Linked DNA regions of Homo sapiens: region 2 is linked to region 1. Evidence: promoter capture Hi-C in 16 types of primary human blood cells and fetal thymus (Javierre and others, 2016). All regions are on one chromosome and are shown on one strand. The core of a region is centred on a gene start or on the middle of the fragment in contact, and the rest is flanking DNA. Distances in the headings are between cores, read along the strand shown. Region 1 holds the start of KRTAP1-4 (keratin associated protein 1-4). Region 2 holds the start of LOC124904004 (a long non-coding RNA gene).

Region 1 (7,342 bases), core at 1,544-4,043:
ATATCAGTCCTTTGCTCTTTGGAATATGTTTGTGGTTTCCCATGTTCAAAGAGTACTTCCATTTTAGTCCAAATGAATGCTCTCATTTTACATAATAGTTATTCCACGTGACAATCTATCCATACCTCTAAGGCTAAGAGTAATAATTGTGCTGTTATATTTAACTATTATTTTTTCCTCCTAGATATATAGACTAAATTTTATTGAATTTTGGATATCTGGATATCTACTGAACTGAAGGAATACCTTTGGTCATACATAATTCGCAGATTTCACCTTTTTTTGTTCCAATGTCTTATTGAATTACCGATTATAGTTCCTTTGATTTCAACCAATTTGGAATGTGTGACTATTATTCCTGTTCCAGACCAGAAATCTGTTCTTGGGAACCAAACTGACATAGTATTTAGGAAGGTATCCAGCAGAGTCCTTAGTTTGTGGTAGAACCTTAATAAATGTTTACTGAATCTGATTCAATAAATGTTTATTGAATAGGTGGAGTAAAAGGCTTGATTCATGGATATCAATACCACTCAAACATGATTAAAGAGAACTTTCAAGCTGTAGTACTTCTCATGAAAGAGTCTTGTTATTTGCTGTAAAGAGACTAGGAAATGTGTTTTTTGGTTTATTTTATTTTATTTTTTGGATTTAGTAGTGGAACCGGGCTCGGGAAAAAATATCTAGGAGTTATGACACTTTGAAAAATGTACTGCCATCTACTTTATTCCTCTTGGAAATTGCATAATTTTGTGTGTAATCCATCATTGCTACCAATTAAATATAGAGGTAAGTTCTGGGAGCTTGTAAATAATGTGGAAAACGTGTTTCTTTCTATATTTGCATCCTATTGTATTTTGTGTATTACACTCTAATGCCTAATGAAGAATTTAAAAATTAAATGGTAAAATATGTTTTGTTTTGTTCTAGGTTGTGTTAATTTTTTTTTTTGAGACAGAGTCTTGCTTGTTGCCCAGGCTGGAGTGCAGTGGCGTGATCTTGGCTCACTGCAAGCTCTGCCTCCCAGGTTCACGCCATACTCCTGCCTCAGCCTCCCAAGTAGCTGGGACTGCAGGCACCCACGACCACACCTGACTAATTTTTTTTTTGTATTTTTAGTAAAGACTGGGTTTCACCATATTAGTCAGGATGGTCTCAATCTCCTGACCTCGTGATCCACCCATCTCAGCCTCCCAAAGTGCTGGGATTACAGGCGTAAGCCACCGTGTCCAGCGTGTTAACTTCTTAAGAGAATATCTTTTAAGTTGGGTTGCAAAGTGCAAAATATAATCGAGCTGTTTCAGATTTCTAACACTTCTGTCTGACAAATGGCAATGGTAGAACTCAGCGGGTGCTCTCTATAGCTGTTTCTTCTACTATCATTTAGACCAAAGATACACCTTATGCATACGTACATCAAATGAAGGTGAATAGTGGGAGTTGAAGCTTAGAGAGCAATTCAAGGATCAGTGGGAAGAATGTGAAAGGCTAAGGTGTAGAAATTAAACCTAAATTCTCTTGGAAAATAGGTAGTATCTAGTAGCTATTTTTAAATCTATTTAGAAGGTAATGCAATTTCTTTAGATTTTGGGGCATAAATGAAGGAGAACATTTAGTATATTAAATGGAAGGAGACAAAAGATGGTAGAATTACATTTAGATAGAAATCAATAGCTTTGATCAACCTTAACATTTTAGCTAAAGGTCAACCTTTATTGGTCTAGACCTAATCATAATAGATTAGAGCATGTAAATATTTGAACTATAAAAATTCTTTAATTCATGGAGCATTTTTAAGCTGATGGATTCAAGCATAATTTACTTTGTATTTAATCTTTCTGGTTTAGACTTTATGGTTATGCCTTGGTATTATTATCAAATTGCAAATCCACTCTTGAATACCAGCTACAAGAAGACATGTTTAAAGGTAGAAGGAGGACATAACTCAGTTTGCTTTGCACATTAAAACATTTTATTTGGATTAATCAGAGATATTCAAGGAAAAACCAGGTCTGAAGATGCATGAGCATCAAGAGAGAGTTGGGGGAGCAGAGATGTCACTGAAATGATGAACTATTCCATCCTGGTCCTCTGCTCAAGCAACGCAAGCTATCCAGAACACTGATTGATACATCTTTCAGTAAGTGAATTCGGCACATCCACAGTGTCCTAACTAGGAGTTTCATTATCTCTGAGCAGCTTAACAACATCATGGTACTTAGCATCCAAGTAAAATCGAACAGTTCTTCAGAAATCAGCACAATTTTGCTGTGCTTCCCCTTTCATTCTTAAGCGATCAGCAACCTGGCTTTTAGCAGGTGGGCTCACAGCAGTGGCAGCAGCAGGCTGGGCGGCAGCAGGACTGTCCACAGTAGGACGGGCGGCAGCAGGAGGCCTCGGCGTGGTGCAGCTGGCAGCAGGATGGGGGTGTGCAGCTTACCAGGTAGCAGGGGGGCAGGCAGGTGCCCTCCACGTGGCAATCTGGGTGGCACCACCTGATACGGGTGCTCACAGATCCACCGCTGCCCTCCTGGCCATAGCCAATGCCACCACCAATGCCACAGCCGGTTCCGCAGGAGCTGGTCTGGCAGCAGCTTGGCTGGCAGCAGCTAGTTTCACAGCAGCTTGGCTGGCAGCAGCTGGAGCCACAGGTCCCACTGGTGGAACAGCTGGCCATGGTGTCAGGAGTTGGGTTGAGAGCTGTGTTAAGAGAGGTTTCTGAGTTTGGGCTGTACCTTCTATATCTGTCCTTTGATATGTTCCCTAGAGCTGCATATTTACCCAACACCTTTTCTTGATGTCAATTTCAGTGTGAGTCTCTGGCTAATACCTGAGGTGTTTATAAAGTTATAAATAGCATTTCAATAGCCTTTTTCCATTGTACAATTAAGTCTCATTATGTTTCTTCTTTGCCCTCTGGGCGAAGTGAAGGCTCATCATGGAAGCCAAGCACCGAAGTGCCTCTTTATGCAAGTCACATGACAGACTAGCCTTGAGCCAAGTGTCGCCCTGGCACGTTTTGTCATAGTTGTCCTTTGATAACCTTTAGGCAGAATTTATCTTAACTGATCATTTTTCCTTAAATGGTCACTTAACTATGATCATGATTTTATAAACAATTTGTCCAGACTTGGAAAGACTAACATTAGTGTCATCAAAACATGAACTACAACCTGATGTATCAACTTTCAAACCAAGTATGCCTTTCTATGATCAATTTGTGCAAGTTATAGGATCCTCAGAGCTCTATCTAATATTCTTGCCTTCAGTAATAGTGAATGTACAAATTGCTAACTAAAATCTTTAATGACTTTTGCTTGTAGATTGTTTTCTGACTCTATTAAATTAAACATATGTGCTAGTAATGAGTACACATTGTAACAAGTCAAAGAGTACAGAGGTATATAAAGAAAAATTAGTGTCTTTTCCCTTCCTGGAAGATGCACACATCTCTTCCAAAACTAATGCTCTAGAGGTAATCAATATTAAGAATTTGGTGCACATTCTTTGACACCTTTATCCTTGCTTCTGCAAATATAAACCAGCATATATACATATATATCTTCTATTTCAGAAAAGTTTGGGTCTCCTACACATGTTTATAGTTACAAATTTTTAATTGTGGTAAAATATACATACCATAAAATTTATGAACCATTTACATTAACCATCTTAACCATTTGTAAATAGTCTTGTCACCCTTGTTGAAAATCATTTGACCACATTCACATTCAGAAGAAATGAAATTAGACCATTGTCTCACATTATATACAAAAACCAACTTAGAATGGATTAAAAGACTGAAATGTAAGAAAGACTCAAAATGATAAAACTATAAGAAGAAAACAGAGGAAACTCCATGACTTTTGCCTGGCCAATATTGTGATATTGTGAACATGAATCCAAAAGCATCAGCAAAAATAGACAAGTGGGATTACATCAAACTAAAAAGCTTCTGCACAGCCAATAAAACACTAAACTGAGTGAAGACGCAAACCGCTGAATGGGAGAAAATATTTATAAACCACATATCTGATAAAGGGTTAATATCCAAAGTATAGAGGAAACTCAAACAACTCAATACCTGTAGTAAGAAAACAAATAACGTAATTGAAAAATGGGCAAAAAATCTAAATAGACATTTCTCAAAAAAAATCTACAAATTGCCAACAGGTATATGAAAAATTTTCAAAATCACCAATCATCGGATAATGCAAATTGAAACCACAATGAGATATCGTCTCACACATATTAGATAGTTATTATCAAAAAGACAAAAGATAGCAAGTGTTGGAGAGGAAGTGGAGAAAAGAGAACTCTGGCACACTGTTGGTGGAAATGTAAATTAGTACAGCCATTATGGAAAACAATATGAAGGTTCATCAGAAAATTAAAAATAGAACTGTCATATAATCAAGCAATCCCACTTCTGTGTATATACCCGAAGGAAAGTAAATCAGTATTTTGAAGAGACATCTGCATTCCCATGTTCATTGCAGCATTACTCACAATAGCCAAGATATGGAAGCAACCTAAGTGTCCATGTCCATCATTAAATGAGTGGATAAAGAAAATGTGATACACACACACATACACACACACACACTCACACACTGGAATATTATTGGTCATAAAAGAAGGAAATCCTGCTATTTGGGGCAACAGATTAAACTTGAGAACATTATACTAAGTGAAATAAGTCAGACAAAGAAAAAGACTAATATTGCACTTTCTCACTTACAAGTGGAACTTAATGTAAATGACAAGTTATTGGGTGCAGCACACCAACATGGCACATGTATACATATGCAACAAACCTGCAAGTTGTGCACATGTACCCTAGAACTTAAAGTATAATAAAAACAAAAAAACCTCAAAAAAAAGAAAAAGTTGAATTCATGGAAGTAGAAAGTAGAATGGTGGTTACCGGGGGTAGGGTGGTGGTGGAGTGTGTTGGGAAGATGTTGGTCAAAGGATTACAAAATTTCAGTTAGATAAGAGGAATAAATTCAAGAGATCTATTGTACAACATAGAGACTATAGTTCATAACAATATGTTACAGTCCTGAAAATTGCTAAGAGAGTAGATTTTGTGTTTTCACTACAAAAAAACTTATGTGAGGTAATGCATATGTTAATTAGTTTGATTTAGCCATTGTACGAAGTATACATATTCCAAAAAAATGTGTTGTACACAATAAATACATATAATTTTTGTCAATTCAAATAAATAAATAAATGAACTCATTTAACCATATGTGTATTTGAGGGTTTATTTCTAGGCTCTCTGTTCTTTTCCATTGCTTTATATATCTGTCTTTATATCAGTATCACACTGTTATGATTACTGTAGCTTTACAGTAAATTTTGAAACAGGAAAATGTGAGACCAACTTTGTTCTTTTTTAAGATTGTTTTGGCTATATAGGACCCCTTCTAATTTCATATGTATTTTAGGATGGATTTTTTTAAAATTTCTGCAAAAACATCATTGGGATTTTTATAGGGATTGCGTTAAATCTGTAGATTCTCTGGGTAGTATTGACATCTTAACAATATTAAATCCTATAATCCATGATCTCAGGATGTCTTTTCATTTATTTGTGTCTTCTTTAATTTCTTTCAGTAACATTTTGTAGTTTCTGGTGTACGAGTCTTTCCCCTCCAAGGCTAAGTTTGTTCCTAAGTATTTTATTCTTTATTTTATTATTATTATTATTATTTGAAATGGAGTCTCACTCTGTCACCCAGGCTGGAGTGAAGTGGCACAATCTTGGCTCACTGTAACCTCCACCTCCTGGGTTCAAGCAATTCTCATGCCTCAGCCTCCCCAGTAGCTGGGACCACAGGCATCCACGAACATGCCTGGCTAATTTTTGTATTTTTAGTAGAGACAGGGTTTCACTATATTGGCCAGGCTGGACTTGAGCTCCTAACCTCAGGTGATCTGCCCACCTCAGCTTACCAAAGTGCTGGGATTACAGGCATGAGCCACCATGCCCGGCCATAAGTATTTTATTCTTTTGATGGAATTGTTTTTAAAATTTTCCTTACAGATTTTTCATGGTTAGTATATAGAAATGCAATTTATTTTTTTTAGTAGAGATGGGGTTTCACCATGTTGGCCAAGCTGATCTCAAACTCCCGACCTCGTGATCTGTCTACCTTGGCCTCCCAAAATGCTGGGATTACAGGTGTGAGCCACCGTACCCAGCCAGAGATTTTGATTTCTGTAACTTCCTGGTTGTGAAAGCACTGTGTAAGGTTAAGTTATGGTAACAGAGCCTTTGCCATTTCTGAGGCCCTAAATAACTACACTTACTCTATGTTTTTATGGTCATTAACCTCCACTGGACCTCTGGATAACAAATTTCCTAATGTGGTATTAGAAGAGAAGGGATATCAAAAGCAGATTAAAGTTTTTCATATGACATTCTATGAAATATACATCCTGAGTACACTCAATGAAAAAAAAAAGATATGTTTGTTGCACCAATAGTTAAAATTTATTAGACCTTGGTATATTATTCCTCTTTCATAGGGGGTGCAATTTGCAGGACGGTGGGATACAGGAAGTGAGTGTCCTGAGAAGGACAGATGGCTCTTCCATGGTCTCGTCGGCGCTGAGACTCAGAGCGTGGGCTTCAATGCTTGCAAAGGCTCAGTTTCAAGGTAAATCGGCTTTTTCATTTCTTGGGTCAAATTTGTATTTTGGCGTCCTCAGAGAGAAGAGTAAGGTCTTTCTGGAATTGAAAGGAATCAGATAATTCTGAGGCCAAAATATTTGGTAACCCCCATAAGAAAGACAAAGAAAGGTTGAAGAATTTGTTCGTTGTCCATAAGTGCTTGAAGAAATAATTCGTTCATGAATGGAACTGAAAGTGGAAATTTCAAGTTGAAAATCAGCAAACTGGCTTTTAGCAGGTGGGCTCACAGGAGTAGCAGCAGCAGACTGGGCGGCAGCAGGACTGTCCACAGTAGGATGGGCGGCAGCAGGAGGCCTCGGCGTGGTGCAGCTGGCAGCAGGTTGGGGGTGTGCAGCTCACCACACAGCAGGGGGGCAGGCAGGTACCCTCCACACGGCAGTCTGGGCGGCACCACCTGATACGGGTGCTCACAGCTCCACTGCTGCCCTCCTGGCCATAGCCAATGCCACCACCAATGCCACAGCCAGTTCCGCAGGAGCTGGTCTGGCAGCAGCTTGGCTGGCAGCAGCTGGTCTCACAGCAGCTTGGCTGGCAGCAACTGGAGCTGCAGGTCCCACTAGTTGAGAAGCTAGGAAATCCGCAGAAGCTGGTCTGGCAGCAGCTTGGCTGGCAGCAGCTGGTCTCACAGCAGCTTGG
Region 2 (7,147 bases), core at 3,930-6,429, 630 kb after region 1:
TCATGGACACACGCGCAAACTTTCACATTCACACAACCTCTCACGGGTACACACCTTACACACTCACACAAAGACGCCATTGCCACTCTGGCCTGTTAATCTTACATCCTCATCAGGAAAGAGGAGGGGCTTGTATCCTCCCTGATTGCAAGAGAGATTTCTAGAATGTTCCCAGGAGACCCCAGTCCCAAGGTAGAGGGATATTCCTCCTGGACTGGAGGAAGCAGAATCGGGGCCAGGACTGGGCCTCAGAGGAACTCCCCGGGCTTCCTGTACCCACTCACTAGCTCATCCTCTCACTCCCCAGCCCATACGTGGGAGAGCCTGACCTGGGGACATGACAGGGGACACACAGCAGGCCCTGATCTTGGGGAGCTCCTGGACCTCACGAGACACCGTGGAGACCTGTGCAGGCTGGCCTGTGGGAGTGCCCATGAGGGGTCCCTGACCCAGCCTCAAGGCAGGACAGGTGGGGAAAGGATCTGAGCAGGTCCAGCACAGCAGGAGACACAGGAGATGCCGGCCTTCCAGGCAGGGTGATGGGCACATGCCATGGCAGGGGGCACCCTCAGGGAAGCATGAGATGTCCCAGGCCAGGGGAGCTGGCTGGAAAGGCAGGGGGTGGGGGCTGGGCCTGGCAAGGTGAGCAGGGGCCCACCTGGGAGAGGCCCACCTGGGAGAGGCCCTGCGTGCCACACGAGGGAGCGGGGCCTTGCTCCTGAAAGCCACAGGGAGCCCTGATTAACTGCACAGGACAGGAGAGGACACAGCTGCTCTGCAGAGGCACACAGCTTGTACCCAAAACCTGCAGGAGGGCAGGTGGTCCTCAGCCTCCATTCCAGGAGCAGAGCAGGCCCAGGAGCCCACCACTGGTCCAGGGAAACCCCCCACAGGTACAGCCACGTTCTTCCCTGATTCATCACAACGAGGCCCCTGTAAGTGACAGAGGGTCGGTCTGTGCAGACCTGGAAACACACGGCCCCAAGACCTGGGATCCTGAAGAAGCAGTGCCAGCTCCTCCCAGACAGCCCGCCCCAGCTGGCCCGCTGGCTCCAGCCCAGCCAGGAGCGAGGGCAGTGGGGGAGCCCCACAGGAGGGAACGGGGGCTCAGGAGGCCTGGTGGGGCAGAGCTGGGACAGCTGGGCGAAGGGGCTGGGTCCTGGCTCCGCGACGAGGGCCCATTCCTGGGTGAGGGAGGGTGGGGCAGCCCACACATTCCAGCTGCTGCCGCTCCCGCCAGCCAGTACCAGCCTGTTCTCGCCTGTTCCCACTAGGTCCCAGGCTGCCCTGGGCCCAGCTCCCAGTGCCAGCTCCCAGAATCCTTCAGGGTTCAGACTCTAACTACAGGGACGCCAGTGCGAATGTCCAGAAGACCACCCCACAGAAACAAGTGCCTCCCCCACCAACACACATGCACACACACACCCCACCAACACACACACACGCATGCATGCACACACACTACCACCAACCAACACACATGCACACACACAAACACACACCCTACCAACACACACACACACCACCAACACACGCATGCACACACACTACCACCAACCAACACACATGCACACACATACACAGACACACACCCTACCAACACACATGCACACACATACACACACCCCACCAACACACACGCATGCACACACATACACACACATACACACACACTGCACACACACCCCAACACACATGCATGCACACACACATGAACCCCACCAACACACATGAACACACACTCACATCCCAGCAACACATGTCTGCACACATGCACACACACACGCCATCAACACACATGCACATACACACACACAAAGCCATCCTCAACCACAGGACACAGACACAGAGCAGGGTTTTCAGGAGCTGAGGCACTTCCTTCCACTGCAGGCAGCACCCAGCCAGGACAAAGTTCTATCCTCTTGCCACAAGGCCCTGGACAGAGAAGCAGGGAAAGCAGCCAAGGTCCCCAGAGAGCCCCTGGAATGGGGCACCCCAGAGCCAGCCCCAGGGCTCAGCCAAAGAAAGCTGGGGAAGTGAGGAGCTGCCCCCAGAAAGAGGAGCCAAGGGGTCTCTGCCCCAGCCTGGGACACCTCAGCCAGGCTTGCCCACCACTGCTCTGCAAGGGGCTAGGTGGGGCCAGGGGGCTGCACCTGCTCTGGTCCCTGCCCCCCAACCCAGCTGCCTGGAGCTCAGCCTGCCGCCCTCACCGTGGAGGCTACGCTAGATGCCCAGGACCAGTGTCCCACCCCATCCCTCAGCCTCTGCTCCCACAGCCCTGCTGTCACCCTTCCTGTCCTCCCTGCAGGACAGAATTCCCACGCCCACCCTGGGCCCAGGGCCAGGAACTGCTGGTTCCCACCAAGGCTTGGGAAGTGATTTCTGCAGACCAAGCCACCCTGGGCCCACCCTGGGCCCATCACAGGTTCCCAGGAAACAGCTTGGCCCTACCTGCTGCGAGGCATGACAGAGGGGACCAGCCCTGGGCTGTGCTCAGAAATGCTGAGGCCTCAGAACTGGGCAACAGGGAGGCAAGGAGGTCCCCCATGGGTGGTTGTTGGTGTGATTGAAATGCTGGCTCTACCAGTAGCCCTCCAGGAAGAGGCTAAACAGTGAGCAAGGTCCCCAAATCCCAAACTTGAAGTTTCCTTCCCCAATCACCATCCAGGGGCCCTGCCAGACTCACAGACAGTGATGGAGAAGCTACAGCGCTAAGTTGGGGGGTCCTGTGGTGGAGAAGATGCAGGTCCCAGCACAGCTCATCTCAGCTCCCAACACACATCCTCAGTCTCATGGTCACATTCCATCCACCAAGAACCCAGGGACATTCAGCTAGGCTTGGTGGTGTGCACCTGTGATCCCAGCTACTCAGGAGGCTGGGGTGGGAGAACCGCTTGAGCCCAGGAGATCAAGCCTGCACGAGCTGTGATGGCGTCACTGCACTCCAACCTGGGCGACAGAGTGAGGCCCTATCTCAAAAATAACAAAAAAAAATTTTAATTAAGTGAAAAACAAAAAGCGCCCAGGGACATTGGGAAAGGGAGTTCCTACCCCCACTTTCCAGGAAAGAAAACAGAGGCCCAAAGAGAGGAAGTGGATTGTGGGAAGAATTTCACTGCAGTAAGTGGTGAGGACTGACCTTGGCCAACCCCATATAGACCCCTTCCAGACCCAGGTGCCAGTGCAGACAGCCCAGCTGGGGTGTGGGGGACACAGGGCCAAGTGGCAAGGTGTCAGCAGCAGTCCCCAGAGATGGGCACCCCATGGGCACAAGTCCGCACTCACAGCCTCTACTCCAGGGCCCCATCTGGCACAGAGCTCCAAGCTGCTTAGGACAAAGGCATCCCTTAGAGGCTGGAGGCAGCAAACAGAACGTGTCCCTCTGCTGCTTCCTGGCCACTGCGGGGCCCTCACCACCACCTCAGCTCTCAGAACATCCTTCATTCTGCCCCCAGCATCTACTGAGCAATGACCAAGACCAAAGCTCCAAACCACAGACTGCCTGGGGCCTCGGCCTCCAGCTCTCCAACTGCAGAGGCAAGAGCAGAGTGTGAGGAGGGGGTGAGGAGTGGGCACCCCAATTGCCCTGGCCACTGTGGGAGCTTGGGCTCTAGCAGGCTGATCTCCCCCAGCCTGCACCCCACCCAGCAAGGACATGCAAGCCAAGCAGTTCCCACACCCCGTTCCTGGTGGCTGCCAGAAGCTTCCTTACAAGGCCCCAGCGCTGAGCTGGCTCAGCTGCAGGCGGGGGCCTGGGTGGGGCACAGCACACCTGGCTCAGCCAAGCCCAGACGCACCCTGCAAGTGAGGAATGCGGACGCCGCCCGGGCTGGCCCTGGGAAAGCTGCTGCCCTCGGCTCCTGCCCAGCCCTGACTCAGCCTAGGTGGGCCAGGGAAGCTGCAGCCTCAGCAGAACCAAGTCTCCCACCCCACCCTCCCCGCTGGCCTGCCTGGGATTGAACCAGGGGACAGGTCCTGGCAGGGGACTGAGAGTAGAGACAGCACCCCCTGGCCTCAGGACTTGGGGGAACAGCAGGGACTCTGTGGGACCTGCCCTTCTCCTGCACTGTCTGGAGGGTGCCAGCACAGCTCTGTCCGGGGGGGCTGCCCACAGCACATTTTCCCAGATGCCTGAGCCTCAGTTTCCTCATCCGTAAAAGGGGGCTAGTGACATTCCTGCCCACAGTGCAGGGCTGCAGTGGTGGAGGAGGTTCCCGGGAAGCATTTGAGAAGCAAACAGACCTCTTCCTAAGAAACAGAAGCGTCTGCCTAACCCCATGAGGCCAGGTGATCCCGTGCTCCATGCAGAAGAAACAGAAGCGTCTGCCCAGCCCCGTGAGGCCGGGTGGTCCCGTGCTCCATGCAGAGCAGGGTGACTCCATCATCCTCTGTCCCTGGCCCCAATACGGTTATTCCAAACTCCCCAGGACAAGGGCTGTGTCTCCCCCTCCGACTAGGCGGTCCCTGAAGGCTCGGGGCATGTCTCCCCTCAGACAAGAGGCTTCCCAGGGACAGAAACTCCATCCTCCTTGCTCCATCGCCCCACAGTCCCATGCCCTGCACTGCGGAAACCACAGGCCAGTGAAGGCCAGAAAAACTGCCCGTCCCCTCCTGGCGCCACCTTACCCCAGCCTCCCCAGGCCCTGACATCCACCTCCTTGCCCACCCAGCCAGCCCCCAAACGCGACGCTGGAGTGCCTCACGGTGCCCACCCAGACCCTGGGGATCAGGAGGCAGAGCCCCCCAGGTCTGGCGCTGGTAGAATCTCCCATCCCTCCCTGCCTGCAAAGAAAGGGCCCACTGGCCTCCCTCCCTGAGCCCTCCCACAGCTGGGCTGGCCAGAGAGAACTTTCTCCCTCTGCTCTCTTTCTCTGCTGTAGTTCAAGCACAGACCCTCTCACCCCAGCCAGCCCTTCTCCACCTTCCGGGCGCACAGTCTTAGGGGTGGAGCAGAGGCTGAGGTTGGGGGCCTCACAGTCAAAGGTGCTGAGACAACAGCCCCGCTGCCCTGTGCTCACTCAGAAGCTCCTGGGGAACTGGAGTGGAGGGGAAGGGTCCCCAAGCCCACAGGTTCTGGCTGCCCCTGCCACGTCCCCTCCCCCAGCCAGGCTTCTCCCAACTGCGGCAGGGCGTCTGGGCTCAGGTTGGGGTGCAGCGTTGGCAGGACAAACAGTCTCCAGTGTTGGGTGTTTGCCTCGGTTACCAAGGAGGGAGGTGAGGGGCCTGGCTCCCTGCCATGTTTGGGCCCCGGGCTGAAGGTGTGGGTGGCAGGGAAGGTGGAGGATTTGAGGTGGGGAGGCTCACTTCCCGCTCCCAGGGCTCGAGGGCAGGGCAAGCCAGCTGGGACTGCCAGATCCCTGGGCGGATTCAGACCTGCATCGGCCCTGCCTTTCTGCTGGCTCTGGGAAACTCAGTCAGGCAGGAGGAGACGCTGGGGGCGGGGCAGCCTCCCTTGCTGCTCAAAGCAGGGCTGTGGGCTGGAGGCTGGGCCCCGGCAAGTCAGGTACTGCCGTGGGTGTCCCAACCTTCCGGGACTGACGGCACCACGGCCTAACTCAGGCCGCCCGGGAGAGAGGCCTAGGAGCCCAGCTCTGGGCCCATGAATTTGGACAAGTCACCGCCCCTCTCTGGGCCCCAGTTTCCCCACCTATATAGTGTCAGGAGCTGGCCTGTGTAGTCCCACAGGGGCCTCCTTTGTTTTGTCCTCCCTGTCATGAGCTGGGCAGGTGGATGCTGAGGGGTTGAGGAGTTGGGCACTGAGCCGGGAGTTGTGACCCGGCCTTGAAGCCCTGGCTGGAAGGGCTCAGTACACATCCAGGCGGCCCTACTGCCCTGTCTGAGGCTGGCATGCAGTGAGTGCCCGGCTGAGTGCAGGAGCCCAGGGCTGTGGTCAGGAATGGCCGGGCCCTTTCTCCCTCTCTCAGCAATGATGAGAGCCACAGCCCAAGGAATCCCCTGCTGCCTCCTGCTCCCAGGTCTCCATCGCAGCCTCAGCATGACCGGCTCTGAGCAGGAAGTAGGGGAAGCAGGACAGAGGCTGGCCTGGCAGTCAGAGAGTGCACAGCCTGGCTCAGGAGGCTGGCAGGTCATCAGGGGCATAGAGCTGGCCCTCGTTGATGGGGCAGGGATGGCTTGGGGAGGGTGGAGACGCCGAGGCTTGAATTAGGGGGTGGGGGGTGCAGGTAGGGAAGAAAGGAAGAGGACTTGAGATTGTGACCAGGCAGTGCCACAAGGAACACAGGAGTGTGGGCCTTCCATGGGGAGGGAGGAAGGTGAGGCCAAAAGATGGCGGGGCAGGGGAAGGGACCACTTGCCTTGCAGCCCGGCCAGAGAGAGCGAGAATGAGCAGTTCCCACACCATGAAGACCTTTGCCCTGGCCCTGCTGGTGGCCCTGCTGTGCACAGAGAGACCCCAAGGTCTATGCTGCCACCAGTGCTTGGTGGCCCCAGCCTGGCACAGGCATGCCTGCCCCGCTGCCACATGCCCCTTCCCTGACAGGGTCTGCGTCTCGGGATATGAGAGACACAGGGAGTCTGGGTCCCTGTGGCATCTGGGAAAGTGAGAGTGGGGAACAGGCTCTGCCTCCTTTCCCTCCTGCCCCAAGAATGATACCATCATTTGGAATGTGGAGGTTCTGGACACCTCTATGAGTTCCAAGCTTTCTTGTTGCAAGAGAGGCCTCTGTAATGCGGGGGTCCTGGTGGCAGGCAGCACCTGGGCCCTTCCTTGGGACTCCTGCTCAGCCTGGGTCAGTTCCCCTCTGGGCCCTGCTGTGATGGCCTTTCCTGTCCCCCTTACCCCATGGCCCCCTCCTCTGTCCCCATGCATAGTGTCCTCCTCAGTTTGGGACCACTTCGGCACTGACCCTCGGGAATTCCAGTGTGGTTTTGCAGCCGCGCGTTCAGGGGAAGGATGTGGTGGGGCAGAGGCGGGGGCTTCCCTGTCAGGGGACTCTGGCACCGGGCGGGTCCCTGCGGCAGACTTGGAATCCCTGCTTGGACTCATCCTGTTACCTGGGCCCAGGGCCTTCAAACCCACATTCCCTACATCGCCACCTCCTTAAACCACCCGGCCTCAGAGCCAGGGGCCTTGCCATTTGCTGTTCTGAACCTGGAACCACAGGAAGAACACAGGCCAGGGGCAGGA

Evidence for each region. The method cuts DNA at HindIII sites, captures the fragments that hold promoters and counts their contacts. A CHiCAGO score of 5 or more calls a contact.
Region 2: a contact is called between a fragment that was not itself captured here and the fragment with the promoter of KRTAP1-4 in region 1, in 1 of 17 cell types (naive CD4 T cells). The highest score is 5.2, in naive CD4 T cells.

The regions. Positions count from the first base shown.
Region 1 is chr17:41,027,402-41,034,743 of GRCh38, forward strand. KRTAP1-4 (keratin associated protein 1-4) reads right to left here and starts at 2,794. Exons shown (of 1, transcript NM_001257305.2): 1 at 1,950-2,794. The coding sequence starts at 2,677. The coding sequence ends at 2,312. KRTAP1-3 (keratin associated protein 1-3) reads right to left here. Exons shown (of 1, transcript NM_030966.2): 1 at 6,483-7,342. The coding sequence ends at 6,917. RefSeq lists an enhancer at 1,884-2,433. The HindIII fragment of the contact is 2,506 bases long and covers 1,445-3,950 here.
Region 2 is chr17:41,650,505-41,657,651 of GRCh38, forward strand. LOC124904004 (a long non-coding RNA gene) reads right to left here and starts at 4,630. Exons shown (of 2, transcript XR_007065756.1): 1 at 2,687-4,630. RefSeq lists enhancers at 3,046-3,744, 3,745-4,441. The HindIII fragment of the contact is 2,956 bases long and covers 3,702-6,657 here.